Regions from separate parts of the Homo sapiens genome. Here regions 2 and 3 are each linked to region 1. The links are contacts of gene promoters, found by promoter capture Hi-C in human tissues and cell types (Jung and others, 2019). All regions are on one chromosome and are shown on one strand. Each heading gives the region's core, a stretch centred on a gene start or on the middle of the fragment in contact. The rest is flanking DNA. Distances are from core to core; before and after follow the strand shown. Region 1 holds the start of AQP8 (aquaporin 8). Region 2 overlaps ARHGAP17 (Rho GTPase activating protein 17). Region 3 has its middle 18 kb from the start of LINC02175.

Region 1 (3,699 bases), core at 602-3,101:
AGCAATTCTCCTGCCTCAGCCTCCGAAGTAGCTGGGACCACAGGTGCCTGCCCCCACGCCCAGCTAATTTTTGTATCTTTAGTAGAGACAGGGTTTCACCCTGTTGGCCAGGCTGCTCTCCAACTCCTGACCTCAGGTGATCCACCCGCCTCAGCCTCCCAAAGTGCTGGGATTACAGGCGTGAGCCACTGCACCCGGCCTAAAGAGATGTTAAAGCTCTTTTCCATTCTGGTTTTCTCAGAAATAGTATTTCTGTTTCCTCATTCAGATCTATTTTTTGAGTGAGATTTAATACAGACCAACCATGTCCCAGATCACCCTGCCAGGCACCCCACTCAAGATCTTCGTCGTGATGGCTGGCTCTCCTGGGAACCAGCAGCCATGTCCACAGACCTCCCCATTGAGCCTCTACCCAGACGAGAGCTAAGCCAGAGAAGCCTGTCCCTTTCCCTGCCCCTCCTTCTTGATCACCTCTTGACAAGCCAGGACCACTGCAGATCTCTGCATACCCAGGTGGGAAAACCTGGCTCAGGTCTTCTATGCATTTCTGCTTTCCCTAAAACCCCCTTCTAGTGGTAACAATAACACAGCAACCAATGCCTGTTGTATGTTTGGTGTGTGCCAGGCGCTCTACTTCATTTAATTCTCATGACTTCCGCATGAGGCACTTGGATTTGAGCGCTGGAGCCAGACAGCTTGTTCTTGACTCCCGCCTCTGCCACTTTCTGGCCCTCTAAGCTTGGACAGATTACATGGCCTTTCACTTTTGCAGCTGTACAATGGGGCTAATAACAGGACCTACCCCACAAGGCTTTTGTGAGGATTAAATAACTAATATCTATAAAGTAATTAGACTAGTGCCTGGTACATGGTTAGCAATATAGATATGTTGGCTTGAAAAAAAAAACATTTAAAAGCTACTATTCCCATTTTATAGGCGGGGAACTTTGGGTTTAGAGAGTAACTTGCCAGCCAGGCATGGTGTCTCATGCCTGTAATCCCAAAACTTTGGGAAGCCAAGGCAGGAGGATCGCTTGAGACCAGGAGTTCAAGACTAGCCTGGGCAACATAGTGAGACCCCATCTCTACAACAAAATTTAAAAATTAGTTGGGTGCTGCGGCGCATGCCTGTGATCCAGCTACTCAAAAAGAGAATGACTTGCTCAAAGTCACAAGCTCACAGGCTGCGGGGTCTGGAGTTGACCCCAGTCTGACTCCCAACCCCATAGTTATCCAGAGCGCTCCTTGAAATCCCGAATACGTATGCGCCCAGGGGTCCTTGACAACGCCTTTGCTTTCCACACCCAGTGCCCCAAGTCAGCATCAGGCTGAATCCTCAGAGCTGGTCTCACCTGATATTCCCCAGCGTGGCAATCACGAGCCCCAAAGCCAGCCCGTGGGCCAGGGCCGGCTGCAGCAGCCCAGTGTCCGTCCCATTCTCAATGACCGACAGGCACCCGATGAAGATGAAGAGAGCAGAGCCCAGCAGTTCGACCAGACATGGCTGCACAAACCGTTCGTACCAGGACACTCGCCACCTGCCACCCACGCTCGGCTCCCTGGCCTTGTCATTGCCAAATTCAGGCTCACACATGGCTATCTGCCGTAGGGAAAAAGGGACAGAGGACACGGGTGGGAGGCAAGTCCAGATATAGAAGGCCCCGACCCCCAACCTTGAATTAATTCACAGCCCCCCTTGCTCTGCCAGCCTGGAGAGGAAGATGCCGACAGAGGGCTCACCTCTCCAGACATCAGGATCAGATGGCACAAACATCGGACTCTTGCCTGAGCTGCTGGGAAACCTGCACCTGCTGTGCAAGATACTCTTATCTCCTAGGGACAGGACCTGCTGATCACACTATGGGCTCTGCCCCTTTTAAAGGGCTGCAGAGGCTCAATGCTGGTGCAGAGAAAGCAATAAACCTCAGGTAGGAGGCGGCTCTGAGGCCCAGAAGAGGAAATTTTTTTAAATCTCAACAGGGCAGGGTGAGGGAGTCAGGGATTGCTGAACTTTCCGCCAGTGAGGGAAAAACACGCCAGCTTGGCTGTGTCATCTGGGAGCACACTCCAGGCTGTAGAAGGTGGGAGATGGGTCCAGCACCCCAGCTCCCCACGGTCCAAAGCAGAACAGCACATGTTAGTGGGCCCCACTGGGTTGGAACCTCACATGTTAAGAAACAGCAAACAGCCAGGTGCAGTGGCTCACGCCTGTAATCCCAGCACTTTGGGAGGCCGAGGCAGGTGGATCACGAGGTCAGGAGATTGAGACCATCCTGGCTAACACGGTGAAACCCCGTCTCTACTAAAAATACAAAACTCAGCCGGGCGTGGTGGTGCACGCCTGTAATCCCAGCTACTTGGGGGGCTAAGGCAGGAAAATCATTTGAACCTGGGAGACGAAGATTGCGCAGAGCCAAGATTGTGCAACTGCACTCCAGCCTGGGCAACAGAGCAAGGCTCTGAAAAAAAAAAAAAAGGAAAGAGAAAGAAGAAAGAAAGACAGAGAAAGAAAGAAAGGAAAGAAAAGAAAGAAAGAAAGAAAGAAAGAAAGAAAGAAAGAAAGAAAGAAAGAAAGAAAGAAAAAGAAAGAAAGAAAGAAAGAAAGAAAGAAAGAAAGAAAGAAAGAAAGAAAGAAAAAGAAAGAAAAAGAAAGAAAGAAAAGAAGGAAGGAAAGAAAGAAAGAAAGAAAGAAAGAAAGAAAGAAAGAAAGAAAGAAAGAAAAAAGAAAAAGAAAGAAAAGAAGGAAGGAAGGAGAAAGAAAGAGAGGGCGTGTTGGTGTTTGCCTGTAATCCCAGCTACTCAGGAGGATGAGGCATGAGAATCACTTGAACCCAGGACCCAGAGGTTGCAGTGAGCCAAGATCGCGCCACTGCACTTCAGCCTCAGAGTGAGACCCTGTCTAAAAAAAAAAAAAAAAAAAAGAAAGAAAGAAAGAAAAAAGAAAAGAAAGAAACAGCAATCCCATTTTCAATTATTTTTCCAATGAGTCCCACAGCTTCAAACACCTGCAGTCACCGTGACAGCCTGAGCCAGGACTGAGTGTATAGATGACGATCCTTCACAGACAGAGGCAGCAGAGACTGGCAAGAGGTAATGCAATGCAGCGGCAAGACCCATGAACTTTGGAAATAGGCTGCCTGGCGTTCAATCCCAGCTCTGCTGTAAACTAGCTATGTAACCCTTGGGCACATGACTTGGCCTCTCTGGGCCTTTGTTTTCTCATCTGTTAGGTGTGGATGTTAGTGGTTTCACCATGTCATAGGGTCGTTGGGAAGTTTAAATGAGATAATACGGGTAAAGTGCTCAGGACAGTGCTAGACACACAATACCAGTGTCCACTAATTTACAATACATGCTTAGCTGTAACTAATAGCTAATAGTGAGCACTTTCTATGTGCCAGGCACTGGGGCTAAGTGCCTTCTATTATCTCATTTAAACCTCACTGCCACCCTGTGAAGCAGGTACTATTATTACAACCATTTCACAGACGAGGAAGTGGAGTGTCAGGAAGATTGAGTTTCCCAAGATTACACAGCTTATATGATCACAGAACTTGTGGGCTGTCACAAAAGGATAAATACTGTATCTGATTCCACTTGTATGAAGTACCTAGACTAGTCAAATTCATAGAGACAGAAGTAGAATGGTGGTTTCCACGGCCCGAGGGGAAGGGAGAATGAAGAGTTTGTGTTTAGCGG
Region 2 (3,699 bases), core at 887-3,386, 250 kb after region 1:
TTTGTTTGTTTGTTTGAGACAGGGTCTCACTCTGTCCCCAGGCTGGAGTGCGGCGTTGCGATCTTGGTCTGGGCTCACTGCAAGCTCTGCCTCCCAGGTTCACGCCATTCTCCTGCCTCAGCCTCCCAAGTTGCTGGGACTACAGGCGCCTGCCACCACGCCCAGCTAATGTTTTGTATTTTTAGTAGAGATGGGGTTTCACCGTGTTAGCCAAGATGGTCTCGATATCCTGACCTCATGATCCGCCCACCTCGGCTTCCCAAAGTGCTGGGATTACAGGCGTGAGCCAACGCACCCGGCCAACGTGGGTTTTCTTGCTGCATTTTATAACATCTATGTTTACATTTAAAGTGATAGAGTTTTCCACAACACCAGACATACCCATTTTCAAACAGAAGGTCAAAGCACATTTGAAAATCAAAACAAATTGTTTTCTATGATTATTTCCCACTTTTCCCCTATTATTACTATAGTTTCTTTTTTTTTCTTTTTAGTGCTTTCATAGCTATTGATTGATACCTACATTATTATTGTTATTGTTGTTTGTAGACATGGAGTCTTGTTGTGTTGTCCAGGCTGGTCTCAAACTGCTAGCTCAAGTGATCCTCCCACCTTAGCCTCCCAAAGTGTTGGGATTACAGGCGTGAGCCACCGCACCCAGCCTCATAGCTACACTATTGAAGTTCTGGCTTTTACTTTCTGAAAGTAATCCCAGGTCACAGATGGTAGTATGGTAGTGGAAAGAGCCACAAGGAGTTCTCAAAAGCAGGAGCTGATTCCCAGTGGCACAGGGAACATTTCAGCTCAAAGCAAGAGAGCAAGGAGAGCACCTTGCTCTCCTCCGGTGGCAGGGATTCCATGGTTGGCCACCACAAGAAAGGGGTTCCATGGATTTCTCTCCAGTAGTAGAGTTTGTGTGAGACAAGATGTGGTTGGTTATGCTCAAAGCAGACCACTACTCCTAGCACTATGAGAGTCCTGTCATGGTGAGAAGCTAAAGTCTCCTTTTGCCTGCTTCCATTCTTAGAGAATAAGCTCAAGAGAATTTGGCATCCTGGGCAATGATACCCCTTCCAGGTAGAATCAATTGTGGGGAAGGATCTATCTCCACCAGGTCCTGCCTCCAGCTGTTGAGTATACACAGCTGGTTCTCAGATGCTGGTGACCCCTTTGTTTTGCAGGTGGAACCAAGCTCACAAATCCTCAGGAACCAACTTTCAGGGGCTTCCATCAAAAATAGATACTCTAAAGGAAGAGATGGATGAAGCTGGAAATAAAGTAGAACAGTGCAAGGTATGAGAATTCCTTGATAAATGTATCTTTTCGGTTTTTGCAAATGAGGGATGAAAGTTCAAATGTAAGTTACTTAATGTTTTAAATAATTTCTATCAGAATATTTTGAATGATTTTAAAGGTAGGTTTTATTTTCTTCTTCTCTAAGACTATATTATTTTATGATCAGAATAAAACATTTTAAATTTCAAATAGGATATTTTTAAAAACTTGACAAGATGTCTAAGCTTATTTAAAGATGAAGTCAGAAAAAAGGAAAGAAAACCATAGCAAAACATATAATAAAATTACAGCGATTAAAAATGCATAAGAAATACAAAAGTAAGAAAAAAGAAGTAAAACTGTATAAGAAGCATTAAAATAGATCAGTGAAATAGTATAGGTTTTCTGGAATGAATGCTATAATGTAAAATTTAATATACAGTAAATGGCTCATATGTCCTTGGAGAAGATAAGGATTACTTTTAAAATGTTGCTTGAACAATTGGTTTGTAATTTGGGAGAAATAGAGCTTTTTATCTCATAAATTACAGATTAATTAGATGGTCAAGTGATCTCATTCTCTCTGCATCCACCTGTGTAGATAGATGTTCATTCTGAATGTTATTTGAGGTGAAATTATTTGAAATGGTAAAGGAATAGGTCTTCGGGGAGTCTTGACAATCTAGAGTCTTAAGTCTGGATTGACTTAGACTTTTCCTGCTCTTATTTTTCATTGTTTTAAAAAAATTGTTTTTTTATTTCCTGCTAATATTAAGACTGTTATATTTTAGTTCATTTAGGTCATGACATACTTTGCTTTTCAAAATAGCAAACCTTGATCAGTTAACTGCAATTAAATGACTTGTTTAAAATAATATAGTGGGTAGAAATATAAGAAAAATATAAAAATAATATAGTGGGTAGAAATTAAAACTAAACTCACAAAGTTATGCCTTTGTTTTAAAAAGTTTTTATGTTTAAAAGATGATATTCAGATAAATGCTTCTACTAAAATAATGTCACATTGGCTTATTTGTGGTCTGAAGAGTTGTAGCTTTGTCAGTGTCATTTACCCAGCAGTCTTCTTAATATCTGGTCTAACCTAGATCCTGGCTATTGCCTACTTATTGCACACAAATTTGGGTAGAGGTTTAGGAAGTCATCATGGGCTGATGTCTGTTCTCTCAACTTCCACACTTGTCAGTATTTCAAGTGGTAAAAACTTAAGAAAATATTTTCTGCCTCCTTCTCTCTCTATGCATACCTTGTGGGTAATTTCCTCAGATCTATGTTCTGTTTCACTGATTCTCTCTTTAGCTATGTTTGATCTGCTACTCAAATAACACTGAGTTTTTAATTTCATTGACTATATTTTCCATTTCTGAAGTTCTAGTTATTCAAATCTTTTTGATACTACATTATTCTTTTCTAGTGTTTCTTTCTTTTAAGTCATTTTAAACATACTTATTTAATAATCTCTGTTAATTCTGTTTTCTGAAATTCTCTGTGAGAGTGGTAGGTGTCTGCTTGTGGTGGATTATTTCCTCATGTGTTTTGTAATTATTTGAACTCATTTTAAGAGGGGCTTTATCTGTGGGACTATCAGGGATTGGGAATGAGACTTCCCAGAGAGTATTACCAGTCCAGGTCCATTTTTAATTAAACTTAAATCAGTTTGGGGTTTCTGGGACCACATGTCAGTAAATTTAAACTTTAAACCCTCCTGAAAGCAGGCCTATGTTTTGTGAAATCTCTTGGCCAATGTTTCTCAGACCTAAAGCCCATTCCAAAACAGACATACTTCCCCATGATTTCCATGTGATGCTAAGTGCATTTGTTCTAATCTGTTGTTTCGTTGAGAGTACAGTTCTTCAGGAATCTTATCTTTATGCATGATATATGTGTACTTGTTTCTCCTTACTAGTCCCCAAGGCTTCAGACACCTTGGTCACCAAGACTGGCACAAATCTGCCCCAGGTCATCTCCAGCTTCCATTGATGCTTAGCATTCCGACTTTTTCTTTCTTTCTGCTTCTTTTTCTTCTTTCTCTCTTTGTGTGTGTGTGTGTATGGTGGGGTTGAGGGGAATCAAGGAATTTACTTTATTGCTTTCCCAGTTATTATAAAAGGATGTTCATTACTTCTAACTAGCATTTCCAAGTTTTTGTCATAAATGGGAGGCCCTTCACATTAATTTGTGTACCTTGATGCCAAAAACAGAAGTCATTACATTAAAAAAAAAACAAACTCTCTCTACATATATATTTTCCGGCATATAAGTTTTCATATATATATATATATATAAAATTCCTATGTATATTTATATTTGAAGATTGGAAATACGTACCTAATTGCCTAATCTGTCACTTAAAATTTCTTTTTGGCCAGGTGCAGTGGCTCACATCTGTAATCCTAGCACTTTGTG
Region 3 (3,699 bases), core at 369-2,868, 130 kb after region 1:
ACTGGAGAAATAATTACAGATACTCTGTGTTTTTCCCCAGGATGAAGATCGTCTCCCAAGTAAATATGTTGAGTTTGACTGGGCACCGTGGCCCACACCTGTAATCCCAGCACTTTGGGAGGCCAAGGCGGGCAGATCACTTGAGGCCAGGAGTTCGAGACCACCCTGGCCAACATGATGAAACCCTGTCTCTACTAAAAATACAAAAATTGGCCCGGCATGGTGGCATGCACCTGTAATCACAGCTACTCAGGAGGTTGAGGCAGGAAAATCACTTGAACCTGGGAAGTGGAGGTTGCAGTGAGCCATGATCATACCACTGCACTCCAGCCTGGGTGACAGAGTGATACTCCGTGTCAATAATTAAATAAGTAAATAAATAAGTTGAGGTCAACTTTCAAATGATCGTCATGAGAAAGCTACACAGTATTAAGTAAGTGTGGTTTAGCCAGAAGAAAAAGAACCAGGTAGAATTCACACCCAGCTCTCGGTAGATGGCAGATTTCACTTTAGGGAACTGCTTTCCTTTGACCCCCTCCCCACTTGCTTTCTTGGCCTGGGATCCTCACTCCAGCATGTCGTGCAGTCTTCAGAATGCGATATCCTTTTCCTTACGACTCTTCTAGCAATTAATGTAATTTGCCTGAACATTTAAAAAATGACCTCTCATAATTTCATAATCTGAATCTTTATGTGTCTTTCTTGATCCCCAGGGCATAGAGAAGGTTACCTGGCCCAGACTAGATGTGCAGTAAATGGTTTTTGTATGTGTGAATGAATGGAAGACTGAAGTTAGTTATTATAGATGAGATATTATGGGGCCATTCCGAGTCCGGTATTCAAGGAGTTTGCAAAGTTGCAGATGACAAGTTTGCTAATGTGTGCTGAGTGTTCGTGCCTAGTAGCATGTTAAGTGGTTTGCTTGGGTTGTTTCATTCAGTCCTCACAGCGGACTCGTGAATTAAGTGCTGTTATTATCACGTTTTTGCAGATGAGGAAACTGAGGCTCAAAGAAGATAATGTGCCCAAGGTCACCTCGCTAGGAAAGAGTGGAGCTGAGATTTAAACTGTGACTTTAAGCCCAAGTTCAAGGCTTCTTACTAGTTTTAACTACATTCCCATACCCCTTTTAATCAATCATGTAAATAAAATCTTAATTCTTTTAAAAAATTAATATGTGTTTCAGCTTGTCCTGTAGAGAAGACTAATACTTACAAATGGGAAATATTCGTCAAGCTTTATTTTTTCTAGTTTGTCTTATGAAATTAAGTTTTTCAGCCTTTCCCAATATAAAGCTATATTTTATATTAAATATGCTTTTTATTTATTTTTTTGAGACGGAGTTTTGCGCTTTTTGCCCAGGCTGGAGTGCAATGGCGCAATCTCAGCTCACTGCAACCTCTGCCTCCCAGGTTCAATCGATTCTCCTGTCTCAGCCTCCCAAGTAGCTGGGATTACAGGCGTGTGCCACCAAGCCCGGCTAATTTTTGTACTTTTTAGTAGAGACAGGGTTTCACCATATTGTTCAGGCTGGTCTTGAACTCCTGACCTCGTGATCCACCCACCCTTGGCCTCCCAAAGTGCTGGGATTACAGGCATGAGACACTGCGCCCAGCCAAGTCTTAGTTATTTCTACATGTAAGTATTTCATGATCCGTTTGTGATTTGGACATCAAATGCTGAGCATAATGCTTCGCTGACCTCACCTGAGACCTGCATCCACTGAATTTTTACTGTATGTGCTTAGGGCCGAATGTAATTAAAGTCTTGTTTATTTACTTCTTTTTTTTTTTTTTTTTTTGTAAATAAGGTCTCCCGTTACGCAAGCTGGAGTGCAGTGGCAGGTTAATAGCTCATTGTAGCCTCAAATGTAGCCTTCCCAGTAGCTAGTGAAGGCCTTTTTAGAGGGGCTCTTGCTTTGAACAGTAGCAAATATATATTTGCCATTTTTGTAGTGAGTGTCTGCATTTGTGCAGTAAATGAGCTCATGAGTAAACTGAGGAGTACATGGACTCATCTCCTCCTCTTTCTTTTCTTTTTTTTTTGGTTCAACATATTTCTGTTGAACAAATGTACATACACACTGAACAGCTATATCCTGTAGTTCAGTATATTTCTGTTGAATGAATGAGTCTCTACCACTTGTTTATAAATATAAACATTTATGTAATTTTAATAGTGAATAACATACATGTTTTGTAACTTGCTCTTTTCATGTCAGCATATACAGATCTGCATCGTTATTTATAATTGCTTTATTGTACTCCTTTGTGGAAATTCCCCTCTATTTAATCTATTTAATCTTAATAGAGGGGAAATTCCCCTCCATTTAATCTGTTCCCTACTGATAATCACTTAGATTTTTGCCTTTTTATTTTTTGTTTTGTTTTGTTTTCTTTTGAAACAGGGTCTCACTCTGTTGCCCAGGCTGGAGTACAGAGACTCGATCACAGCTCACTGCAGCCTCAGACTCCTGGGCTTAAGTTGCCCAGGCTGGTCTTGAACTGAGCTCAAGCAGTCTGCCCACCTCAGCTTCCCAAAGTGCCGGGATTACAGGTGTGAGCCACTGTGCCCAGCCTATGTTTTTATATTAAACAGTGTTATAGCAAATACAAGTATATGTGCATGTTTGCAGGAATCGCTAGTGCAGAGTTTGCACATTATGAATAGCCACTGCCAGGCTTTTCAAGTCCTTTTTTTACCAATTTACAGTTTCACTGAATTGGGTGAGGAAATTTCCTGCCCTACACCCTCTGTCTCACTTTGTTTTGTGCTGCTGTAACAGAATATCTGAGACTGGGTAATTTCTAAAGAACAAAGATTTATTCTTACAGTTCTCAACGCTGGGAAGTCCAAGGTCAAGGGGCCCACATCTGGTGAGGGCCTTCTTGCTGCATCATCCCATGGTGGAAGGTGGACGGGCAAGAGGGCATGCTTGCCTGCAGGAGAGGAAGAGGGGGGAAGGGGCCTGTACTTATTCTTTTATCAGGAACCCCTCCTGCGATAACTAACGCTTTCATGAGGGCAGGGCCCCGTGACCCATCCCCTCTTAAAAATCCGCCCCCTCAACACTGCTGGATGGGGAATGAAGTTTCCAACACATGAACTTTGGGGAACACAGTCAAACCATAGCATTCTGCCCCAGCCCCCCAAATTCATGTCCTCTCACATGCAGAGTACATTCATTCCATCCCAACAGGTTTAATGTTTTCATTTGTTCCAGCACCAAGTCAAGAGTCCAGAGTCTCATTTGAATCAGATACAGGTGAGACTTTGGGCAAGATTTCTCCTAAGGCAGATTCCTCTCCGCCATGGGCCTGGGAAATTAATGTGCTTCCAAAATATGATGGTGGGTCAGGCATAGGACAGCAATTCCCATTCCAAAGGGATTCGTTTCCTGTTGTTGCTGTAACAAATCACCACAAAGTTAATGGCTTGAAGAATACAAATGGATTATCTCACATTTCCGGAGATCAGAAGTTCGAACCAGATCTGCCTGCACTACAATCAAGGTGGCAGCAGGGCTGATGAATGCCTTCCTGGACACGTGAGGGGAGCATCTGCCTCCTCACCTTTTCCAGCTTCTTGGGTCTGCCCATGTTCCTTGGCCTCTTCCTGCATTTGTCAAAGCCAGCAGCATTTATGCTGTGCCTTTCTTCCAAAGTTGTGTCTTCACGGACTTCCTGGGCAACTATGAAG

Evidence for each region. The method cuts DNA at HindIII sites, captures the fragments that hold promoters and counts their contacts. A contact is called where the count stands out against the background at its distance.
Region 2: a contact is called between a fragment that was not itself captured here and the fragment with the promoter of AQP8 in region 1, in 2 of the 25 tissues and cell types used here (IMR-90 fibroblasts and aorta).
Region 3: a fragment that was not itself captured here is called in contact with the fragment with the promoter of AQP8 in region 1 in 1 of the 25 tissues and cell types used here (bladder).

What each region holds. Positions count from the first base shown.
Region 1 is chr16:25,215,099-25,218,797 of GRCh38, reverse strand. AQP8 (aquaporin 8) reads right to left here and starts at 1,851. Exons shown (of 6, transcript NM_001169.3): 1 at 1,741-1,851; 2 at 1,353-1,600. The coding sequence starts at 1,752. The HindIII fragment of the contact is 27,087 bases long and covers 1-3,699 here.
Region 2 is chr16:24,961,791-24,965,489 of GRCh38, reverse strand. It overlaps ARHGAP17 (Rho GTPase activating protein 17), which reads left to right. Exons shown (of 20, transcript NM_001006634.3): 7 at 1,182-1,293. Among named protein-coding and RNA genes, the nearest start is that of ARHGAP17, 52 kb to the left of the region's middle. The HindIII fragment of the contact is 8,561 bases long and covers 1-3,699 here.
Region 3 is chr16:25,083,065-25,086,763 of GRCh38, reverse strand. No RefSeq gene overlaps it. Among named protein-coding and RNA genes, the nearest start is that of LINC02175, 18 kb to the right of the region's middle. The HindIII fragment of the contact is 4,255 bases long and covers 1-3,699 here.